Regions from separate parts of the Homo sapiens genome. Here region 2 is linked to region 1. Evidence: promoter capture Hi-C in 16 types of primary human blood cells and fetal thymus (Javierre and others, 2016). All regions are on one chromosome and are shown on one strand. Each heading gives the region's core, a stretch centred on a gene start or on the middle of the fragment in contact. The rest is flanking DNA. Distances are from core to core; before and after follow the strand shown.

What was found. The method cuts DNA at HindIII sites, captures the fragments that hold promoters and counts their contacts. A CHiCAGO score of 5 or more calls a contact.
Region 2: a contact is called between a fragment that was not itself captured here and the fragment with the promoter of EVX2 in region 1, in 1 of 17 cell types (total B cells). The highest score is 5.2, in total B cells.

Annotation. Positions count from the first base shown.
Region 1 is chr2:176,082,397-176,088,674 of GRCh38, reverse strand. It overlaps EVX2 (even-skipped homeobox 2), which reads left to right and starts at 4,713. Exons shown (of 3, transcript NM_001080458.2): 1 at 4,713-5,325; 2 at 6,226-6,278. The coding sequence starts at 4,899. It also overlaps a transcript of HOXD13 not described here. RefSeq lists enhancers at 2,064-2,888, 5,339-5,954. The HindIII fragment of the contact is 15,744 bases long and covers 1-6,278 here.
Region 2 is chr2:174,348,640-174,355,236 of GRCh38, reverse strand. CIRSR (corepressor of RBPJ and splicing regulator) reads left to right here. Exons shown (of 10, transcript NM_004882.4): 8 at 3,512-3,618; 9 at 4,492-4,577; 10 at 6,065-6,597. Among named protein-coding and RNA genes, the nearest start is that of SP9, 17 kb to the right of the region's middle. The HindIII fragment of the contact is 2,171 bases long and covers 1,261-3,431 here.

The DNA of each region.
Region 1 (6,278 bases), core at 3,464-5,963:
TCTACCTACCTATCTCCATTCCGCAGAGTCCATTGTCTCTATGGGGAATCCACATTGTCCTTACCGGCAGGGCAAAGGGATGAAGGTGAGGAAAGTGCCCAAGCACGAAGGGGGGAGCCGAAAGGGAGGCGGAGGGGCAGTGTTCGGCTCCACTTCCCGGCCCGGCGGCGCGCAGTTCCCCACGCCTGGCGCTAGATGTCCCTGCAAGTTTTCCCGTGGCGTCTGAGGGCACAGGAACTCGAGGCAGGCGATGGGTCTGCGTAGACCGAGCCCAGGAAGAAAGTATCCCCCAACTCCCGCACCACGACCTTCCTCCGTGGGGCGCGGGATTGCGACGGGAGTGGGAGGAGGAAAGACAGAAGCAACCGGAGAGACCCGGAAGGGACAGAGAGCTAGAAGCTGGCCTGCCGAGGGCTCGAAATCTGAGTCTTCCCTTATGCAGCGAAACCTGCACCCGTGGAAACCGCACTTCGCCTGAAGACAGGGAGCCCGAGGCTCGAAGCCCAGGCTTTCGCGGTCCTACTGTCCCACTGCACCCTGCAGCCCCAGCTCTCGAGCAAGCATGCGTCCCAAGGCGGGACCGCAAGTTGTCGGCCCCAATTGCCCGCAGCCCCCCGCGTAAGAGGAGAGCCAGGCTCCGGCAGCGGCAGACGCGGGGCTTCGCTGCAGCTACGGCTTTACCGGCGCCCCTCCCCTCGGGCAGCCCGGACAGATTTTTATTACCTGCAGTCATAGGCCAAAAGTGTTTACCACTTCACCTCAGAGGACCCGCTGCTGCTCAAGAAACAAATATTTAGTCTGGAAACCTAACCAAAAAATTAGGCCTCTTCAAAGTCATTACTCCTTTAGAACAAAAAGGGCTTTTCAGTCCATGCGAAGGAAGTCCTTCCTGTACTCCCCACCCCATCTTAAAAATTTCTGCCAAAGCATGCGGGCTTGGGTTGGATTCTTGACTTGTTTTATCTAGTGGGTTCTGTACCTTGGTAGTGGGTAAGAGGCCTTGACGGTCACAGAGGCTGCATCAAACCACCCGGAACATTTGACAGGCCTGTTCCCAGCCTTGGCCTTCACATTCTGGGAGACGTGCAAGTTTGGGTATTTCATCAAAAAGCATCAACAGGGAGGGGCGCAGTGGCTCACGCCTATAATCCCAGCACTTTGGAAGGTCGAGACAGGCGGATCACCTGAGGTAGGAGTTCGAGACCAGCCCGGCCAACTTGGTGAAATCCTGTCTCTACTAAAACTACAAAAATTAGCCGGGCGTGGTGGCGTATGCCTGTAATCCCAGCTGCTCAGGAGGCTGAGGCAGGAAAATCGCTTGAACCCGGGAGGCGGAGGTTGCGGTGAGCTGAGATCTTGCCATTGCACTCCAGCCTGGGCAACGGTGTGAGACTCTGTCTCAAAAACAAACAGACAAACAAACAAACAAAACAAACAAAAACCACCACCAACAACAACTACAACAAAATACACACACAAATCAACAGAACTGCACTCTTCTTACTACCCTCTATATAGGTTCAATGTTTTTGAGGTAGGCCTGTATTTACATAAGGCATATGCAAAATGAGAGAATTAACCTAAAAAATGCTGCCCAAGGCTTTAAACAACACTTTTGACTTTATCATCGGAGATAAGTTTAAATCACAAGTCCCTGAACCCCTCTGGCTCATAATCTCTGGAAAAGGGATAATAGTTTAAATCTCACAGAGTTACTGTGAACCTTAGCTGAGATAACATGTAAAAAGCACTTGGAATTGCAAAGTAAGAGTTTTGTATAAGTTAGCCAATATTACTACTAGTGGGCGTGGAATCTCTAAATAAATTAAGGGACATTAAATATTGGAATGGAATGGTCACTGTACCTCATGAAACATTATTGCCTGCTACACCCAGTTTAGTGGAAACATTATAGGTGTCTTTTACTGTGAGTAGTTTCGCTGACATGTCTCTGACATGTTTTTTGTAATAAACGTGCTAGAAATGCACTATCAGTGTCATTTAAAAGGTGCAAAAATAGTTTTCAAAGCCACTAATGAATGAAGGTGCTGCTGAGAAATAGTGTTTTCCCTTTCGACAGACTGAGGTCCGGTTTGGCGCAGCCTTTGGGACCAGAGGCGTCGGGTCCCAGAGGAAGGGAAGATGTGGGAGAGCCTCGGGCTGAGTGATAGAGGAAGGGGTCGTCAGTCCTCACCTTAGTCCCCAGTGACTGCGTCTCCGACTTGAAAACCAACTCACAGCAGCCGAAACCGCGAGGAAAACAGATGGGGGCGCCAAACGACAGCAATAAAGGCATCCACGGATTTCCACCCAAGCAGTGCCTCGGTTCACCCACACTCCCGCCAGGGTCTCGCACCACTTCCCACCCCCACCACCCCAGCACGACCCGAGCCTGAACCAAGGTGTCCCATTCAGTCCCTGGAGCAAGCGAGGACTGGGTAGGGGGACCCTTCCTGGGTCACAGGAGCAGCGACTGCCAGGCATGGCAGAATTGGGCATCCGGGCTGCGGAGCAGGGAGGGAGCAGGTGGGGGCGTTGGCAGGGCTGGACTCCCACCGCGCTGATGGCCCCAAAGCCGGCGCAATGAGAACTCAGGGAGCTCGGAGCTGGGTGGCCAATGGGGCAGGGGCAGAGGTGGACGCTGGGTCAAGTCCCAGTCCCGGTGCGCTGGATGCCCACTCTGCGTTCCCCGCCGGTTCCCCGTTCCCCCAGGCACCGCCTGCCTATCGAGCTTTCCGTTTATTACCTTAAAGATGTGGAATTGATTTTCTAAGCAAAGCTCGCGTTGTTGAAATAAGTTGGCGCCGAGGGGAACAGAAGATAAACTTTTGGCATTGACTATATGTGTGTATATATGTATATAAATATACTTCACACCTCGCTTCCCCTTACATTCCTGATGCGCCCCCAACGGGTCTAAGGTTAAAAGGAAAGCGCCAAGAGCTATAGGCGAATAGATCTCGAGCTTGCCCCCTAACACACCCCAATGTTCTGGGTGTGTCGGCAGAAAGAAGAGGGGGCCCTGGTTGGGGTTCGGATTGAGGCTAAATGTGGGGATGCAGGACCCGCGCCCAGCGCCCAGATTGTCAGGGTCTCTCAGCCGCTTCAGAAGCTCACGGGCGGACCTCCGCGTCCCATCCCCGTCCTCCCTCGCCTCCGCCTGTGTCCGCGAATCTCTCTCCGGCTGGGCCGTTGGCGGGTGGGCACAGTGCTTGGAGGGTCAGGGAAGGGTGGGCGCAACCGCGGGAGATGAGGAGCGGCCTGGAGTGAAGATTGATCTTCGTTAAAATGGTTGCCACCGGCGTCATTATGACTATCAAAGTTGTCGCCAAGAGGCTCAGCCTCCAAGCCCAGGCCGCAGAGAGCTGCTGTAAGGCTGTTCGGCGACTCTCTGCGCCCGGACCCAACGCTGGGAATACCTGTGGCCGCAGGTAAGGGGCTGGGGTTGATGAGGGGAGGAAAGAGAGAAGGAAGAAAAGCAAAGGGGAAGGGAGGGCAGCGGGGAGGTAGGGGAAGAAGGCTGTCTCCTCTTTCCTCTTTTGACCTCGAAATCCAGCGCCTTTGCCGCAAATAATTCTATTTGAGGAGGGAGGGGAAAATCTGGCAACGTGAGCGTGGATTCGGAGCGCCCGTATGGCGCTGTAAATCTCCACTGTGTTTAAAGTTAGCTGTCGAATTCTGCTATCAAATCGTCCAGCCTAGTTCGTTTCCCCTCAGGAAAATGCGTAGGCGAGAAGGCTTTCTATCAGCAGGATTATAAAAGTAAAAAACCGGGGACTTCGAGTTCAGATCTCACTCTGCAGACGGTGTTAGAAAATCAGAGAGGACCTAATGATTTCCGTTTGGAGGCGCGGGCCCAATGCACCTCCGCGGCCACGTAGCAAGAAAGCGCTTTCAAAACTCTAGGATATTTCTATTTCTCTCTCTCTCTCTCTCTCTCTTTCTCTCACTCCGTCTCCCTCTCCCTTTCTCCCTCTCTCCCTCTCTCCCTCTCTTCCGCTCTCTCTCTCTCCCGGGGTGGGAGGAGAGCATTTAGGCTGAGGTGAAGAAATAGGGAGGGAAAGAACTCCGGCGTCCTATTTGTTAAATAAAATACATATTTGGTTCCGAAATCCGAAAGATAAGTAATCCAGATAGGAGAGGCGCAAGGTCTTCTCCTTACGCAACTCTTCCTGCATCCTCCCCCTTATCTCCCCCCACTTATGCCCCCAGCTTGTAAATGGTAAAAAAAAAAAAAAAAAAAAAAAAAAAAACCAAACCTTCCCGAGGACCTACTCTGGAAAGTCAAACCATTATCTATTATTTAATACGTATCTGTGTCCAAGGAAAAATGAAGAAGGCGCTGCATGATTAGGACCTAAGGGGCAACCTAGCAAACTGAGAGCGTAATGATGCCCCTAAATGAAGGGGGAAATGTGCCGCGGCGCGCTCTATTAATCAGACTGTCAATTTCACCCCCGAGGCCAAACCCCCGGGCGAGCAGAACTGGCTCGGAGCGGGCAAAGGACCGGAGCCTTCCTCCTCACTTGTCTCTTCTCGCCTCCTACCTGGATCTATTTGTCTGCTCTGAAGCTGCCTTCATTACCCACTGACAGGAGGGTGTATTTATTTGCTTATAAACCTGTTACAATAAATGATTATTCGAACAGCGTCATTCGTACCTTAATGACGAGCGGGCGCTACTTTTTGATGAATGACATCTCGGGATCGGAAGGATGTATGGGTCATTTTGACCAGTCATTCCCTCGCTCTGGCATCCCACAATTTTTCCGCCTCCCTCCGAAAGCGATAATAATATTTAGAGGCGTTCGCTGGGGCTGAATGAGAATTAGCCCTAGGCGCAGCCTATCATTAGGACGGGACAGCAGGGCCACTGTGACATTTTTAAGAAAGCTGAGATGATGGAAAGAATAAGAAAAGAGATGATTCTGATGGAGAGAGGGCTGCACAGCCCTACGGCGGGCAAGAGATTCTCCAATTTGTCCAACTCGGCTGGCAATGCTGTGCTCGAGGCCCTGGAAAATTCGCAGCACCCGGCTCGCCTAAGCCCGCGCCTGCCGTCTGCCCCCCTGCACAGCGCTCTGGGAGAACTCCCCGCCAAGGGCAAATTCGAAATAGACACTTTGTTCAACCTGCAGCACACGGGCAGCGAAAGCACCGTCTCCTCCGAAATCTCCTCCGCCGCCGAGAGCCGCAAGAAGCCGGGCCATTATTCAGAGGCGGCCGCTGAGGCCGACATGAGCAGCGACGTGGAGGTGGGCTGCTCCGCGCTTCGCTCCCCCGGGGGCCTCGGCGCCGCTCAGCTTAAGGAAAACAATGGCAAAGGTAACCGCGCCGGCCGCACCGCGCTCTCCAGTCCCATCCTCTTTGCTCCTCCGCGGCCCCCGCCAGCCTTTCCCGGTGCCTTTTCCCCTCTCAGACCCTCCACAGGCAAGCTACACCGAGCTAGCACGGGCGGGGGCGGGACGCATGTCTGGGACCGTGCCTTCCAGTTCTGCTCCTTGAGCTTTCCCGCCAGGCTCAGGCCTGCGGAGCCTGGAACACCAGGCCCACCCGCCCTCGCTCCTGAGTCCGAGAAAATGTTTCTGCGCTCGTGTCTAAGAGCCCGAGCGAGCCGGTAGACCCCTAGTCAGCAGCCGAGTTGCTTTTGGGAAAGGTACCCTGGGCAACTACTCTGAACTCCCCTGCCCCTGTGCCCTCAGGGCTGGAGGGGGCATTCTTCTGGGTAAGTCGGAGGAAGCCTCGCCGGCGTCTCTGTTTAGGTCAGCGGGAGAAAGAGTTGAAAAGTATATTTCACCCCCTATTGGCTTGGGTTTGAGCTACTGCTGTGTTGGAACTCTTAAAATATTTGAAACCCCGAAGACTCAGATAAAGGTTAGAGGCCGTATAAAAAGCTGCCCTGCGGTCTCCAGACCATGGGAAACCCAGAGCTTCCCAAACTGCGCCCAGAGGTAGGCATTTTCCCTCGGCCACTTTTCCTCCTTGGTTGAAAATTTCTAATTATTAAAAAAGAAATCTCCTAATTCCGTTTCTATTATTTGCTTATGAAGGGCTCCCCAAACTTTATTGATTCCATTAACGGCAGCAATTTGTAAGCATGACAGACCCCATCAATTCCGGCAGCGACTCTCCTTCCTGACGGGGCTTCCCCGATCCGCGCGCAGCGCCAGCGCCGGGCTGTTGGTCCTACAGCCACTCATGCGCTGTTGGTCGTTTGTTTGCCAGGGTACGCAGAGAGCGGCTCGGCTGCCGGCACCACGACGTCGGCGTCGGGCTCA
Region 2 (6,597 bases), core at 1,097-3,596, 1.7 Mb after region 1:
TGTAATCTATTTTATCAACGTATCTGTAATCATCTATTTTATCAACCAAATTTTGAGTTCTCAAAAGATCTGGAGTCATTTCTGTCAGTGTAACTCTACGTAGCCTCTGTCATAATAATGTGAAAGTAGAAAGATACTTGCTAAATATATCTTGATTAAACCTGACTTGTTTCATCTCCTAAACCTAGAACTTTAAACTCAGAACTTTGGTTGATAGGAGAAGGTTTAAGTATAAAAAAAATGTGAATAAGACTGCATTGTGAAAAGTATTACTACTAAGAGCATTTTTTTGTATTATGAAAAGTACCGTAAGATAGTCATGGAATTTGGATAGTGGCCGGGTGCAGTGGCTTACAACTGTAATCCCAGTACTTTGGGAGACCTAGGCAGGTGTATTATTTGAGCTGAGGCATTCAAGACCAGCCTGGGCAACATGGCAAAACCCTGTCTCTACCAAAAAAAAAAATATATATATATATAATATATATACATATGTAAAATATATATTATATAATATATATTATATTATATATAATATATGTATTATATAATATATAAAATATATAATATATATTATATAATATATAAAAATATATAATATATATTATATAATATATAAAATATATAATATAATATATATTATATGATATATATAATATATAATATAATATATAAAATATATATAATATAATATATATTATATAATATATAAAATATATTATATGATATATATAATATAATTTATATAATATAATATATATTATATATATTTTATATATTATATTATATAATATATTATATATATCATATAATATATATTATATATAATATATAAAATATATATGTACATATATAAGTAATATATGTACATATATAATATATCTTATAAAAAGACAATTTCTTATATAAGAAAGTTGAATAGGTACTGGTAAAAATAATAGTTGTTACTCTTTATTAAGTACTATTTGTCGAGCACTTCACTAAGCACTCTATTTACAGTCATACATTGTGAAAGTGTGCTAAATTTATATACTACACAGAGTTTTCAGTTGGGATTTTTGAAAAATATAAATGCTAGAAGAGTAATGATTGTTTAATAGTCTGTATAATCTCTGTAACACTGGGGAAATACATCATTTTCTTGACATAGTTGGAAGTACTGTAAAGAAGGCATGCTTTCTATAACATCTTATTAAAATTACCCATCTTGTGATGAAAACTGATGAAATTAGTATAACCTCTCATCATGATGGCCAAGCTTTGTGACCCTTTATTGGAGTGGTTTTTATTCTAATTATTAACAAGTTTGGTGTCTGAATTCATTCGATATCTAATAAAATTGTTGACAAGGAAATGTAGTTTTGACACTTCAGAAGAGACATTTTCTACTTTATAAAATTAAGTTCCTACATGTGAAATTTGAGAAGCCACCAAAGTAAACATTCTATTATTCATTTAAAGCTCTTAATTGAGCCGGGCGCGGTGGCTCACGGCTGTAATCCCAGCACTTTAGGAGGCTGAGGCTGGCAGATCACGAGGTCAGGAGTTTGAGACCAGCCTGACCAACATGGTGAAACCCCGTTTCTACTACAAATACGAAAATTAGCCAGGCATGGTGGCAGTTGCCTGTAATCCCAGCTACTCCAGAGGCTGAGGCAGGAGAATTGCTTTAACCCAGGTGGCGGAGGTTGCAGTGAGCCGAGATCGTGCCACTGCACTCCAGCCTGGGCAACAGAGCAAGACTCCATCTCACACACACACACACAAAAAGCTCTTAATTGTATGAGCACCTCTATGCCATTTAGAGGCAACCAGTATTAATATTTAAAATTCAATTTTATTTAAGATTGTATTATCAATGTTAACAACCAGACTGAATAATTAAAGGGCCATTAAAGTAATACATAGGAATTAAACATTTTGTATAGAAGAAAAAAATTAAAAACCCTCTTGGTTTAAAATGAAATATTAATATAAGACAGGTGTTTTTGTTTGTTTTTAACTAAATAAGGCTTTTTTTCCTAAAACTATGACATCATTAATAACTTCCCCCATACTCCAATAATAGACAGTTTTTCCCCATCATCTCCCTAGTACCTAGGGCAAACTTACAGTTGTTCTTCGCAATATGAATGGAATGGTAAAGCCTGGAAAGTCCAGTAAAATATATTATCTTATAACTGAGTTTTTCTCACCAAATTTTTAACCACATCTGCTATTGACAGGTAAACAAATTTGAACTGATTGCCTTTTGCTTTCCATGATAATATGCAGGTGAGTGCGCAAATAAGTGGTAAAAGACCAACAAAGCAGTAAAAAGAAATAGACAAAGTATTCAACCAGCAAACTAAAGAACTCATTTCTGAATATTTTTCTATCCCCCTACCCTCCCGTATGAACTCCTTTTTGGCAGTAACTGTCTCATTCTTCCCTAAGTGACAGACACATCAGCTGGAGTACGTCATTTAAGCCAGTGTAGGTGATTTAGGCTGGCAACTTTAAATAGCTGCCATGAAATGTTGTCATTAGTTTGCTATCTGCAGGGAAAACAAAATGAAACAGGAATATACAAAATGAGATAAGAGTCTCTCTTACCTTACATAAACCTTATGTTTGAGGGCAGGGGGCAAACCTTTAAAAAAAAATTATTTATTTATTTAGAGACATGGTTTTGCCATGTTGGCCAAGTTGGCCTCCTGGGCTCAAGTGATCCTCCCGCCTCTGCCTCTCAAAATGCTGGGATTACACGCATGAGTCACCACTCCCAGCTGAAAATTTTTAAAATTTATTGTTAGTTCATATTTGGGAAACAAAAAGCTCACTTTTCAGTCTGAGATTTTGCAAAAGTGGAAGTGTAGTGTAAAAAAATATAAAACATACATACCAATAGCCAGCCTAAAACTGCTTGTTAGCAACCCAAGCTAGTAATTAAAAATTTTGAAATCTGGGAATAAAAGCAAGATTAATTAAAGTACTTGGTGGTTACCCATAGGTGTGTGTGTGTGTGTATGTGTGTGTGTGTGTGTGTGTGATTAGCAACCACTTGGCAATGTATTCAGTATTGTTATTTGACAAATAAGGATGAGGAATTTTGAATTGGAAATAAGGATGATAAATTCCTCATGTACCTTTAAAAATACATCTTTTAAATGAACTCTTACTGAGAGAATAACTACTAAAAGTTTAATTGTAGTTTTTTATTATAATATTTTGCTTTGATTTTATACTAAAAACTGCCAACCAGATAACATCTAAATGTATCTTTTTCAATATGACAAAGTTACATAAGAAGACTCCCCTTGCACGTAAAGAAAAATGCAATTATTTTCTATTCTGAATCTCCAGACTGCTGTTTTAGAAAATCATATCTGATTATTTGCTCAGCAGAAGATTATTGAGTTGATTTAGCTGTGATTTTACTTAACAAAGCTTCAACTGCATTCCTACTGTGGAGTCCGAAAAAGGTAGAGAGATATAAATGATACATTCAAACTGTGATTTTTGTGAACAGGGCCATCGATGCACCCCTCGGAGCTAATAGCGGAGATGAGAAACAGTGGGTTTGCACTGAAACGAAATGTACTGGGGAGAAACTTGACCGCAAATGATCCATCACAGGTAATGATCTTTTTATCAGTAAGCTGAAAATGTCTATAAATCTAAATGTGATTGCTTGTGAATTGCTACTTAATGTTTTCCAATATGCATATATCCATAGGAAAGTAAGATAGAGCAAAGAAAATGCCCAAAATGTGTTTTGATTTTGCTTTATTATTTTAATCTAAATGAGAAATTGTTTATAAACCTGTATTTTAATAAATGAAACTGCTCCTCTGAGTTTATGTGGATAAAATATCTAACTGAACTGGTGATGAGGTTGTTGGTTTTTCCTTCCTGCTAACTTACCCCTGATATGACATTAAATAGAACCAATGGTTAGAAGTATGTAAAAACTCCTAAAAATTGTAGAAAATATTTTAAACTTATTTATTTTATTAAACTATACATAGATCCAGAAAATGATTGAGTTTGAAGGGCTATATTATTATATATTTGATAATGTGCTGTTGAAATTATAATAAAAGCTAAAATTGTGGATATTTTGACATTCCTGTAAAACTCATAATCTTCTTTTTTATATTTCATTAAATTAAAAATAAAGTATTTAAACTGGCAAGAGTTAACATTCAAGAGATAGAGAATGGAAGTCATGCTCTAAACATTTTATCTGTGTGTGTCTATCATCCTTTTCCTGGAAAAGTTTCCTAATGCTGGCAAAGCAGTCATGTTAACCTCTTAGTGCTGTATGATCCACTTCGGCAGGGAGACTACAAAAAAATTTTTTAATTCTCTCCCACTTCCCAATCCAAAATATCATATTCATCTACAGTGTGTCCCTGATACAAAACTTATTTATAAATGTTTTCTTTTTTATCTACTAACTACCTTGTGTTGAAATCTAGCAATTTAATGATATCTTTGTTGACTCAGGAGTATGTTGCAAGTGAGGGTGAAGAAGATCCAGAAGTTGAATTTTTAAAGTCACTAACAACCAAACAAAAACAGAAACTTCTCAGGTAATTTAGAAGTATATATTTAATAGATTTATTTTTTCCTTAGTATTCATCTCAGTATCGTATTCAACTCTGATCCTAAGAGCTCATGAAGGTCCTTATACCATGCATCACATTTATTGATTATTCTTCACCCATAGCTAATACAATTTTGTCTGTCTTTTCAGTAACATGGAAATGAGTGTAAGATTGTATACTCAGATTGTACCACAAAACGATTGCACTTTTCAGAATGTTTAATTTAGAATTAGACTTATTTATAGCTTTTACTTTTCAAAATAGATTTGTGTGTATCTTCGCACACAATTTGTTCTTAGGAAACATTTTTGGCCATTTTTAAAATGTTTTGTAAAATTTTATGAGAATGCAGAAAGAATGCTTAAATTTAAGGTAAACGTGAATTTTGTTAAACAGACTACCTCTGAATTAAAAGAATCCAAGAAATGTCTGCTGGGTCCAATAGAGGGAGCTCATGATGCTTTCAGTATGTAGAGTTTTGAGAATGGCTAGACAGAACCTAGAGACTTATTTTCAGAGTAACTCAAACATACCATATAAACAAGTTACTCCTCCAAGAATGTGAAGTACTCTAGAAATTCAGAATGTTTTAATAGGATTGTCCTATTTATAAAACTAAACAATTGTTGAAAACAAGTATTAACTATATTATTTTATAAAACCAATATTTCAGAAGTTTAATGTGTACTCTTACTCAGAATTTCTGGAGAATATTCTCTTGAATTTTGATAACGTTGATTAATATTTATATACTATAAAATAGTACATAAAATTAATTTTTCATCTGATTATAGCTATATATTTGCTTTTTTAGTAGTTCCAACTGATGTTACACACCTTTCACAGGCTTTCTTTAGGATGACCCTTTAGAGTGCTATATAATTTCAACTCAGTAAGAATTTAACAAAAAAGTAGTCATTACTATTGAAGTATAGTCAGAAAATTGGCTTGATGCATTTAATTTTTTAATTTAATGTATTCACGCTTTGAATAATTTTAAAGGAAGAAAATGAGTTGTCATTTAGTAAACAATGCGTTCATATATGGATACCAGTTCTTTTTTTTTTTTTTTTTTTTTTTAAGACAGAGTCTCACTCTTTTGCCCAAGCTGGAGTGCAGTGGCATGATTTTGACTCACTGCAACCTCCGCCTCCCGGGTTCAAGCGATTCTTCTGCCTCAGCCTCCTGAGTAGCTGGGATTACAGGCAGGTGCCACCATGCCCAGCTAATTTTTGTATTTTTACTAGAGATGGGGTTTCACCATGTTGGTCAGGCTGGTCTCGAACTCCTGACCTTGTGATCCGCCCGCCGTGGCCTCCCAAAGTGCTGGGATTACAGGTATGAGCCAGCGCGCTCTGCCATGGATACTATTTTTAATAACTTCTAAGAAAATATATTGTTTGTTCATAACTTACAGTTGATGAAATAACTGTTTTTCACACAGTCTGTTACTGTTTATTTCCCAATTACAGGAAATTAGATCGACTGGAGAAGAAAAAAAAGAAAAAAGATAGAAAAAAGAAAAAGTTTCAGAAGAGCAGAAGTAAACACAAAAAACATAAGTCCTCTTCTTCCTCATCTTCCTCCTCCTCCTCCTCTTCCTCTACTGAGACTTCAGAAAGCAGTAGTGAGAGTGAGAGTAACAATAAAGAAAAAAAAATACAAAGGAAGAAAAGAAAGAAAAACAAGTGTTCAGGGCATAACAACAGTGATTCTGAAGAGAAGGACAAGTCTAAGAAGAGAAAGCTTCATGAAGAACTTTCTAGCAGTCACCATAACCGGGAAAAAGCCAAGGAAAAGCCCAGGTTCTTAAAACACGAGAGTTCTAGGGAGGACAGCAAATGGAGCCATTCTGATTCTGACAAAAAGTCCAGAACCCATAAACATAGCCCAGAGAAGAGAGGCTCTGAAAGAAAGGAGGGGAGCAGCAGAAGCCACGGCAGGGAGGAAAGGAGCCGGAGAAGCCGGAGCAGAAGTCCTGGTAGTTACAAGCAAAGGGAGACAA